Linked DNA regions of Homo sapiens: all the other regions are linked to region 3. The links are contacts of gene promoters, found by promoter capture Hi-C in blood cells and fetal thymus (Javierre and others, 2016). All regions are on one chromosome and are shown on one strand. Each heading gives the region's core, a stretch centred on a gene start or on the middle of the fragment in contact. The rest is flanking DNA. Distances are from core to core; before and after follow the strand shown.

Region 1 (2,700 bases), core at 192-2,691, 1.2 Mb after region 3:
CACCATATTGGCCAGGCTGGTCTCGATCTCCTGACCTCAGGTGATCCACCCGCCTCGGCCTCCCAAAGTGTGGGATTACAGGGGTGAGCTACCGCGCCCGGCCAAGATATTCTTTTAATTCTATTAGTACCACACATTCTTCAAAGTTATTAAGAAGATACTACAGTTCAAAAAGAAGAAGGAAAAAAGACTAGCACAAACACAGTCTGACAGGGGCCAAACAGTATACAGTTATTAAACTTTAAATACGGGAAGATATCATTTCTTCAGGTTAAAACACCTCCCTATCAAACATAATAAATTAAAATAAATGACTACTGACGTAAGAGGGATAAATAGTGAGTTTATGGGGGCATTTATGATTACTCTAAACTTTTATTCTAAGTGTTACAAAGTACATTAAAGGAAAAATAATAAAAGGGTGAAAAGAATAAAGGGCTTTGGACCTGGTATGAGTCAATTTTGAAAGAGAAAACCCTGGTGATCGTTACTGAGGCTCACAAAGCATTCCCTAAAGACCGTTAGTAACTAATTTTCTAATGTATCTAACGCCGCATACCAAGTAGGATGATTTCTGGAGCAACCAGTACATATTTGCGGAGGCCAAATAAGGTTATTTGGAGACTAACTGTCGTGGAACTAGTTTTCATCCTACAACCATGAAAACTGGGATTTCCCCCCTTTCCCATCTTTTACGGTTGTCTTATGAAATGTTCCACAAATTCATCTTACTCCCCAAATTTCACTGGAAAAAGTATTCAAGTAACTACGACCATGTCGAAATCAGGTAATAGAATTAAAGGACTTATCTTTTCCTAAGGAGTTAGAAACCATCATGCATCAAAATTGTTTCGCATACATCACGCCCAAGTTTCTCGTTAAGGGAGATGGCACTGACAGCGACCAGGGCAGAGCCGAGCCTCTGTAGAGCGGTGCCAGGGCCCCGAAGGCGCCGGACGCCCCGCGAGGCAGAGGCCGGTAGCGGTGTGGGGGACCGGGCACCCGGAACCACCCCCACCCCGGCTCGGCCGACGCGGGCTGCGGAGGACGCGGGCCGGCCCAGAGATGGTCTGGACCAAAGCGGCGCAGAGATGCTGCTGGCTCCCGGCGTCCGGCCTGTGCGCCCGCGCCCAGCACCCCCACTTTGTCCTCCGCGCAGCCGGGCCCAGGCTTCTCCCGGCCCCCGCGAAGCTCGCCGCGGCCCCGGGCCTCTAGAGGGCCGAGCTCGGCGCCCGGCCCCTTCCCAACCAAGAGGCCAAGAGGCTGCACAACCCCCCAGCCGCTCCCACTCACCATGCGCCACGGTCCCGCGAAGTCGCCCACCCCTAGATCCCCGCCGGGTCGGCCGAGCCCGGGGCGCGCTGCGGCGGCTTTGAGTGCGAGGCCAGGCCGCGCCTCCCGCCGTCCCCTCAGCGCAGCGCCCGCGAGCCTCGGGCACCTTAAAGAGACAGGCCCGCCCGCCGCCCTCCTCCCGGCTCCTTGCTCCCCGCCCCTGCTCCCCTCTTCCCCTCCGCCCCCGCTGGGGTCCACAGCCGCCAGCTCCCGCCAGGAGGCGTCTCTCACTCCCCCGGCGCTCCTGTCAGCGCGCACGCCCCCATCTCGGCCCCGCCCACTCCCCCCGCCCCTCCCAACGCCACGCCCCCTCCGCGCCACCCGGTTTCGCCCCTCCCTCGTGCCACGCCTCCACCGCAGGCTCCCGCCCGCCCGCCGGCCCGCAGGCCACGCCCCCAGGCGCACCCACCCCAGCTGCTCAACGCGATTTCCCTTCGCGCTTCTCCGCACCGGGATCCCCAGTCCCTCAGGTTCCGACAGACCCTCCTGTCAGGCCCATTCTCCGGGCCCCCTCAGTTGCAGTGTTAAGATCAACAGTGTTAAGATTAAAGCCTTGTGATGTGCTAGCCACTACGCTGAGGATATGCCGTGTACTAAAATTCCTCAGGACTCCTCACAGCTGCCCTGTAAGGAAGCGGCCATGGCCGGGTTCTAGCGATGCGAGGCCGAGGCTCGGGGCGCTGAGTAGCCTAGCGCGTCGCCGAGGAGAGCTGGCACGTGAACCCCTTGTCGTTTGCCGTCAGAGGTAGGATTTATATAAAATGCGCGTTTCCTAGGTCTACCTCAGACCTACTGAATAAGGATCTCCAAGGGTAGAGCTTTCGAACTTCGTTCACCAATTCGATAAAACTTGCCAGGCTCCTTGTGAGTGGCTGGCGCTGAGCTCTGCATCGGAGCTCTGCATCGGGAGTCGAGAAGAGGGGGCGCCATGGATCCGGGCGCGGAGGTCGCGCAGCCTAGGTAGAAGGTGCGCGGTTAGCACGTAGGTTAAAAACATTGAGAATGACACTCAGTTCTTTCCCACAACTCTGGGTTGCTTTTTTTTTTTTTTCTTTTGAGACAAGGTCTCACTCTCACCAGGCTGGAGGGCAGTGACAACATCAGGCTCGCTGCAGCCTCCACCTCCTAGGCTCAAGCAATCCTCCCGCCTCAGCCTCCCGAGTAGCTGGGGCTACGGGCGCGCACCACCACGCCTGGCTAATATTTTATTTTTTTGTAGATATGGAGGTCTTGCTATGTTGCCCAAGCTGGTTTCAAATTTCGGGGCTCAAGCGATCCTCCCACCGCGGTCTCCTAAATCGTTGGGATGACAGGTGTGAACCATAGTGCCCGGCCGGAATTTGCTTTTTAAAGAAGATTCCAGGGTGA
Region 2 (2,700 bases), core at 201-2,700, 1.0 Mb after region 3:
CTTGTTGACAGTTAAAGTAAGAGATAAGGTTCAACTACCCTGAAGGCAGGAACACTGCCTTCTGTATCTTTAAGTCCTCTTCACCTGGTCACAGTACTTTCTACATAGTAATTCCTGTATTCTAAATAATCTGCATTTTTCCTTGTACCCTCTTATACAAACTAACATAAGTTTCTATCAGGGATCTTTCAAAACAGAAACAATATTCTTTTGGGTTACATGCTGGGCCCGATCTCTTCTTGCCAAGCAAACAACTATGCAAATATAACTGTACAAATTAAAGTTATTATGCACTTTCTGATACCACTTTCCTATTCTAAATTAGGGGAGAAATAGTCTGGATAAGATCCATAATTAGAAACAATATCCTGAAGAGAAAGCAAACTAAGTTGTATTACATTGTTTCGAGATACCTTGTTTAAAGAGTCACTTCTCAAAAGCTACTACTGTTGGCAGGGCGCGGTGGCACACGCCTGTAATCCCAGCGCTTTGGGAGGCCTAGGCGGGCAGATCACCTGAGGTCGGGAGTTCAAGACCAGCCTGACCAACATGGAGAAAATGTCTCTACTAAAAATATAAAATTAGCCGGGCGTGATGGCGCATGCCTGTAATCCCCTCAGGAGGCTGAGGCAGCAGAATCGTTTGAACCCAGGAGGCAGAGGCTGTGGTGAGCTGAGATCATGCCATTGCACTCCAACCTGGGCAACAAGAGCGAAACTCTGTCTCAAAAAATAAAAAACTAAAAAAAAAAAAAAAAAGCTACTGTTAACTAACCTACCCCACTTGGATCTACCAGATACTTTGAATGAGAGGTGGAAACCACTCTACTGACCTCCTTCCTACCCCTACTACCGCCACTCCAGCTTACAGTAATTATTTTCACAAAGACAGAAAGGAGTTATCAAATGACCACAATAACTCTAAAAACAGAAAGTGAGGTGATCTTTCTTATTCACAGTCCCACTTATTCATTTAGAAATGCTGAGCACCAAAACAAAACCTTATCACAAGTTCAGTATTTCGTTAATAACTGCCAAGTATAATGGAATACTCCCCAAAGTACTGCAGCATTAGAACATGACCACTCCACTAAATTAAAAATTCAGCGAAAGCTTTTCTAACAAGGCTGGATGGAGCACTAACTCAACGGCCAAACGGCTGCACTTCCTGTATATGCACGTTCAAAACACCTCGAATTAACATGCTAGGGACCTTGAAGAATTGTACTAGGCCTTGCTCAAGAGGAAGGCTTTGTAATACTGAATCCCAAAACTTGAAACAGCAGAATTACTTCAGGGAAGACGGAGGTGTTAAATATTCTGTAAAACCTGTTTCACTCTCACAACGATCAGTTTTAAAAAAAAGAGGGAGAACACTGACCTCATTAAGAGCATTCTGACAACACACATAGTTGAACATGAGTTGTGAAAAGAATTTTCAACTTCAGATCTGTCTGTCCATTCCCACTGAAACCTGAAGGAAGGATCGCAGCACCCAAAGGCGCCCACTGCTCAGTGCCAGCGGTGGGCGACACCAGGAGCCTGTCCTGGTCCCCTGGGTAAGCCCTGGAGCCTGGCCACTATGCCGGGCACGATCCACCAACCGTGAGGGCTGGGTCCCCTAGCCTCTGTCCAGGCGCCCCCCAAGAGCTTCCCCGAGGCCTGGGGACTCCTAACTCTCCACCCCCGGCCCCCGAGAGCACCACAAACGAGGACGCCACGAAGGGAGGCCCGTCGGCCAGTGGGAGGGACGCACGGCCAAGGGGGGCGAAAACTGGGGCGAAGCTTTCCGGGGAGGAACCCACGCCAGGGGCAGCCACGCCCCCCACCCCCAACTTCAAACCCGAGCGCTGCGAGCACCGAGCCCCACACGCTGCCTGACAGACGCGGGCGCGAGGCCGGCGCGGGAGAGGGTTCCTCGGGCACTCCAGGGGTATCGCCGCGACCCTAGCACGCGACCGCTCCCTGCGACTGACCTGTGCCTGCCGCCGCGCGACCGTCCGCCCCGCCGCAGCCTCCGCCTCCTCGCGCTCACGCTGCCGCCGCAGCCACCGGAGCCGCCTCCTGCGCTGCGCCCCAGGCCGGCCTCGGGCGCCCCATTCCCACCCCGCCCAGCCTCTGCCTGTTTACAATGATTGGGACGGAACGGGACGAGGCGGTCCAGCGCGCACGCGCATTCCCTCCTCCCGCCGCAGCCGGCTTCCCGGATCCTCCTCTCCGCTCAGACGGCTGAAGCCGTCAAGGGCAGGCGACCTGGGCTCTCGCGCGGGGCGCGCTGGGAGGCGTAGTTCCCAAGGCCCCGGCGTCCAGCCAGCCCGAAGGCCTCTCGCCAAGGAAGCAAACTACAACACCCAGGAGGCACCGCGCCCCCTTCGTCCCCAGGCTCGCTGAGGAGACTGAAGAAGAGCGCGAGAGAACGCGCCGAGGGCCAGTGCTCTGCAGGCGCCTGCGCAGTCGGTGGCCTTGCGGGTTTCGGGGACGGACGGCTTACCCCGGTGTGGTGCTGGCGAAGGTGGCTCGCGGGCATCTCCTGCAACGGCCTTGAGGATGGAAAGGGCTTTCCTCTCCACGCTCTGGCCAGCCTGCGCCTCAGCTCCCGAAGTTGAGAGCTTTCCTTGCGCCAGCGTGCTTTAGTCGTTCCAACCAGTTAAACCAGACTGGGGGCCGCCCGGCTGGCCGCTGGGTGGGGCGGCTGCCCCGC
Region 3 (2,700 bases), core at 183-2,682:
GAGCCCCAGCACCTTACACGCTGACTGCCTCGAGTCATGTGATAGAGCTTGAGTTTTTCCACTGTTTGAAAACTGGCTCTGCGATCTTTCACCTGTGCAGTTGGGGGCAAGTCGTTATGAGGCTTCCCTGAGTCTCATTTCCTCTTACGAAAAATTAGAATCTCTATTTGGAAAGTTATTGTGAAGATCTCAGCTTATGAAATTATGTATGTGAAGCACCCACCACAGAGCACAATGCTGACTTTTTCTTTTCTTTTTTTTTTTTTTTTTTGAGACGGAGTCTCGCTCTGTGGCCCAGGCTGGAGTGCAGTGGCGCGATCTCGGCTCACTGCAAGCTCTGCCTTCCGGGTTCAGGCCATTCTCCTGCCTCAGGCTCCCGAGTAGCTGGGACTACAGGCGCCCGCCACCACGCCCGGCTAATTTTTTGTATTTTTAGTAGAGACGGTTTTCACCGTGTTAGCCAGGATGGTCTGGATCTTCTGACCTTGTGATCCGCCCGCCTCGGCCTCCCAAAGTGCTGGGATTGCAGACGTGAGCCACCGCGCCCGGCCCACAATGCTGACTTTCTATTAACTGTAACTGCCAGATAAAAATGCACTGGAGTAATGAAACGGGGGGAAGAGGCTGCCAAAAGGATGAATTAAGGATTATCAGTTCAGTCCCACAAACATTTGCAGGGTGCCTACTACGTACTGTACCAGAGGTGGCAGGACATACACATCAAAGGACGAACGAAGCACAGTCCCTGCCCACAGGGACAGTAAAATGCCAGATGACAAAGGTTCACCGAGGAGTTTTTGGGGTAAACCTATGGTCCCCTCCACACAGGGGGCTCTTCTAGGGCGGTGGTTCTCAACAGAGCGATGTTGTTCCCCAGATGACATTTTGGGTTGCCACAAATGGGGAAGAGATGCGACCGGCACCCAGCAGGTAGAGGCCAAGGATGCTGCTAACGAGCCTCCGATGCACAGACAGCCCCCACCACAATCTTCAGGAGCAGAGCGCCCAAGTAGAGAAGCCCTCGCCCCGCAGCACTGCGCCGAGTCCCCGCCCACACCGGCTCTGGGGAGCGGACTTCCGGCGGGGTGGACCCACGGCGCTTCCCGAGGCGCCGCAGAGCTGACCCCGACCCCGGGAGTGTGACCCAGAGGACACCGAGCCCCGGCAGCCCTGCGGGCACCAGCGCGCCGAGGCCCCTCAGCCCTGAGCCCTCCCTCCCGCCCCCCCCGGGTGCTAAGGCCGCGCCAGTGAGAGACGGACCCGGCGTCTACACACAGGCCCCCGGAAGGTTCTCACTCACTATTTCTCTGCTTTGGCGAGGTGTTCCAGCCCCTCGTTTATCTTCTGAGCCGCCATCTCCACAGTCAGGTCTCTGACGTGGAGAGAGGGTGACCCTGCCTCTTCCTCCGGCGCCAAGAATCCGCCCAAATAGGCGTGGGAACGCCGAGGAGGAAGCTGGTGCAGCGCGACAGTCGAGCGGCTACGGAGGGCCGGAGGGCCCAAGCCGCTGCGACGAAGCGGGGCTGGGAGCCTGCCGGTGCGCCCCGCAAAGAGACATTGCGCAGGCGCAGCGCGTCAAGGCTGGCCCCACCTAGGGCATCTAGCGCAGGCGCGGTGAGATACTGATGGGGCGTATTCTTTCATTCAATATTTGCAAAGCACCTAATATGTGTCAGGCACTATTTTAGATGCGGGAAGATCAGCAGACAAAAACTCCCGCCCTCTTGAAGTCTTGCTTTTTCATTAATGTGAAACTGCTGTGGATCCTGTTTGTAGGGTTAATTGGCTTTATAATTTATTACATCTGAAGTTTCTCTGTATGACAGATAGAATAGTATTCTTCTATCCATTCTGCCTTTTGGGTATTAATTGTATGTCAGTCAAGAAACGAAACAGACTTGTAAACCCTGATTACTGTCAAATAATCCGCGCCCAACCCAAATAATCGCTCTAATATTTCAAGCCGTGATAAGTGCTCTAAATGGGAAGTTGAGGGATCTAAAGTCGCGTACAGTGGTCTGGTAAAAATAGTAACCAGTAATACAGTTGGCTTCATTCATAATTCATGGTGATTTCAATATCCACATGGATGATTCCTGCAATGACTATACAGCCTCTCAGCTTCCAACCTCCTGTGATCTTTCCCACACTAGCGCAGCCACACATTCCTGGGATCACACCCTTGACCTTACTCATAACTGTGTACCCTCCGTAGTGTCAGTTTCAAACAGCTCACTTTACTTCCCCTTTCCATTCCAGCTCATACCTCCTAGTGCTAGTAATTACTTAACCTTCACCAGATTCCTCACCTTTCCCTATCCCTCTGCTCTTACACGTCCTTCTTTTCCCAGCATAAATTCATGTCCCATCATTTTAGTGCGTATACTCTCAACGGCCTTGGCTCCCTCTCCCTCCTTTCTCCAAGCCAGGAAAAACCCCAGCTCTCCACCTACTCTGGAACTGCTCTTGAGCAAGTGAATTTGACTGGAAAAAAACAAACGAGGATGCTAACATTACTCATTTTAATGATCATAAACATTAAGCCGACCTTTGGTGCTGCTGAGCAACTCTCCTATGTTTCCATGGTCAAATCACTCACCCACTCACTTGGAGGGCTGTTCACACCTTCCTTCTCAAAACTCCTACACAATCTCTGCTTGCCTGCCAACTCTCACTTATTGTTGAATATGAAATAACTAT

What was found. Contacts are between HindIII fragments. The CHiCAGO score rates a contact against its expected background, and 5 or more counts as called.
Region 1: a contact is called between the fragment with the promoter of TWSG1 here and the fragment with the promoter of NAPG in region 3, in 4 of 17 cell types (non-activated CD4 T cells, fetal thymus, total CD8 T cells and 1 more). The highest score is 10.8, in non-activated CD4 T cells.
Region 2: a fragment that was not itself captured here is called in contact with the fragment with the promoter of NAPG in region 3 in 1 of 17 cell types (activated CD4 T cells); the score reaches 6.6 in activated CD4 T cells.

The regions. Positions count from the first base shown.
Region 1 is chr18:9,333,514-9,336,213 of GRCh38, reverse strand. TWSG1 (twisted gastrulation BMP signaling modulator 1) reads right to left here and starts at 1,441. Exons shown (of 5, transcript NM_020648.6): 1 at 1,294-1,441. TWSG1-DT (TWSG1 divergent transcript) reads left to right here and starts at 1,745. Exons shown (of 3, transcript NR_183523.1): 1 at 1,745-2,077. RefSeq lists enhancers at 841-890, 653-1,153 and a silencer at 951-1,740. The HindIII fragment of the contact is 11,774 bases long and covers 1-2,700 here.
Region 2 is chr18:9,474,967-9,477,666 of GRCh38, reverse strand. RALBP1 (ralA binding protein 1) reads right to left here and starts at 2,154. Exons shown (of 10, transcript NM_006788.4): 1 at 1,976-2,154. RefSeq lists enhancers at 1,524-1,583, 1,322-2,190 and a silencer at 1,814-2,223. The HindIII fragment of the contact is 672 bases long and covers 1,115-1,786 here.
Region 3 is chr18:10,524,759-10,527,458 of GRCh38, reverse strand. It overlaps NAPG (NSF attachment protein gamma), which reads right to left and starts at 1,432. Exons shown (of 12, transcript NM_003826.3): 1 at 1,301-1,432. The coding sequence starts at 1,356. RefSeq lists a silencer at 1,040-1,289. The HindIII fragment of the contact is 5,497 bases long and covers 1-2,700 here.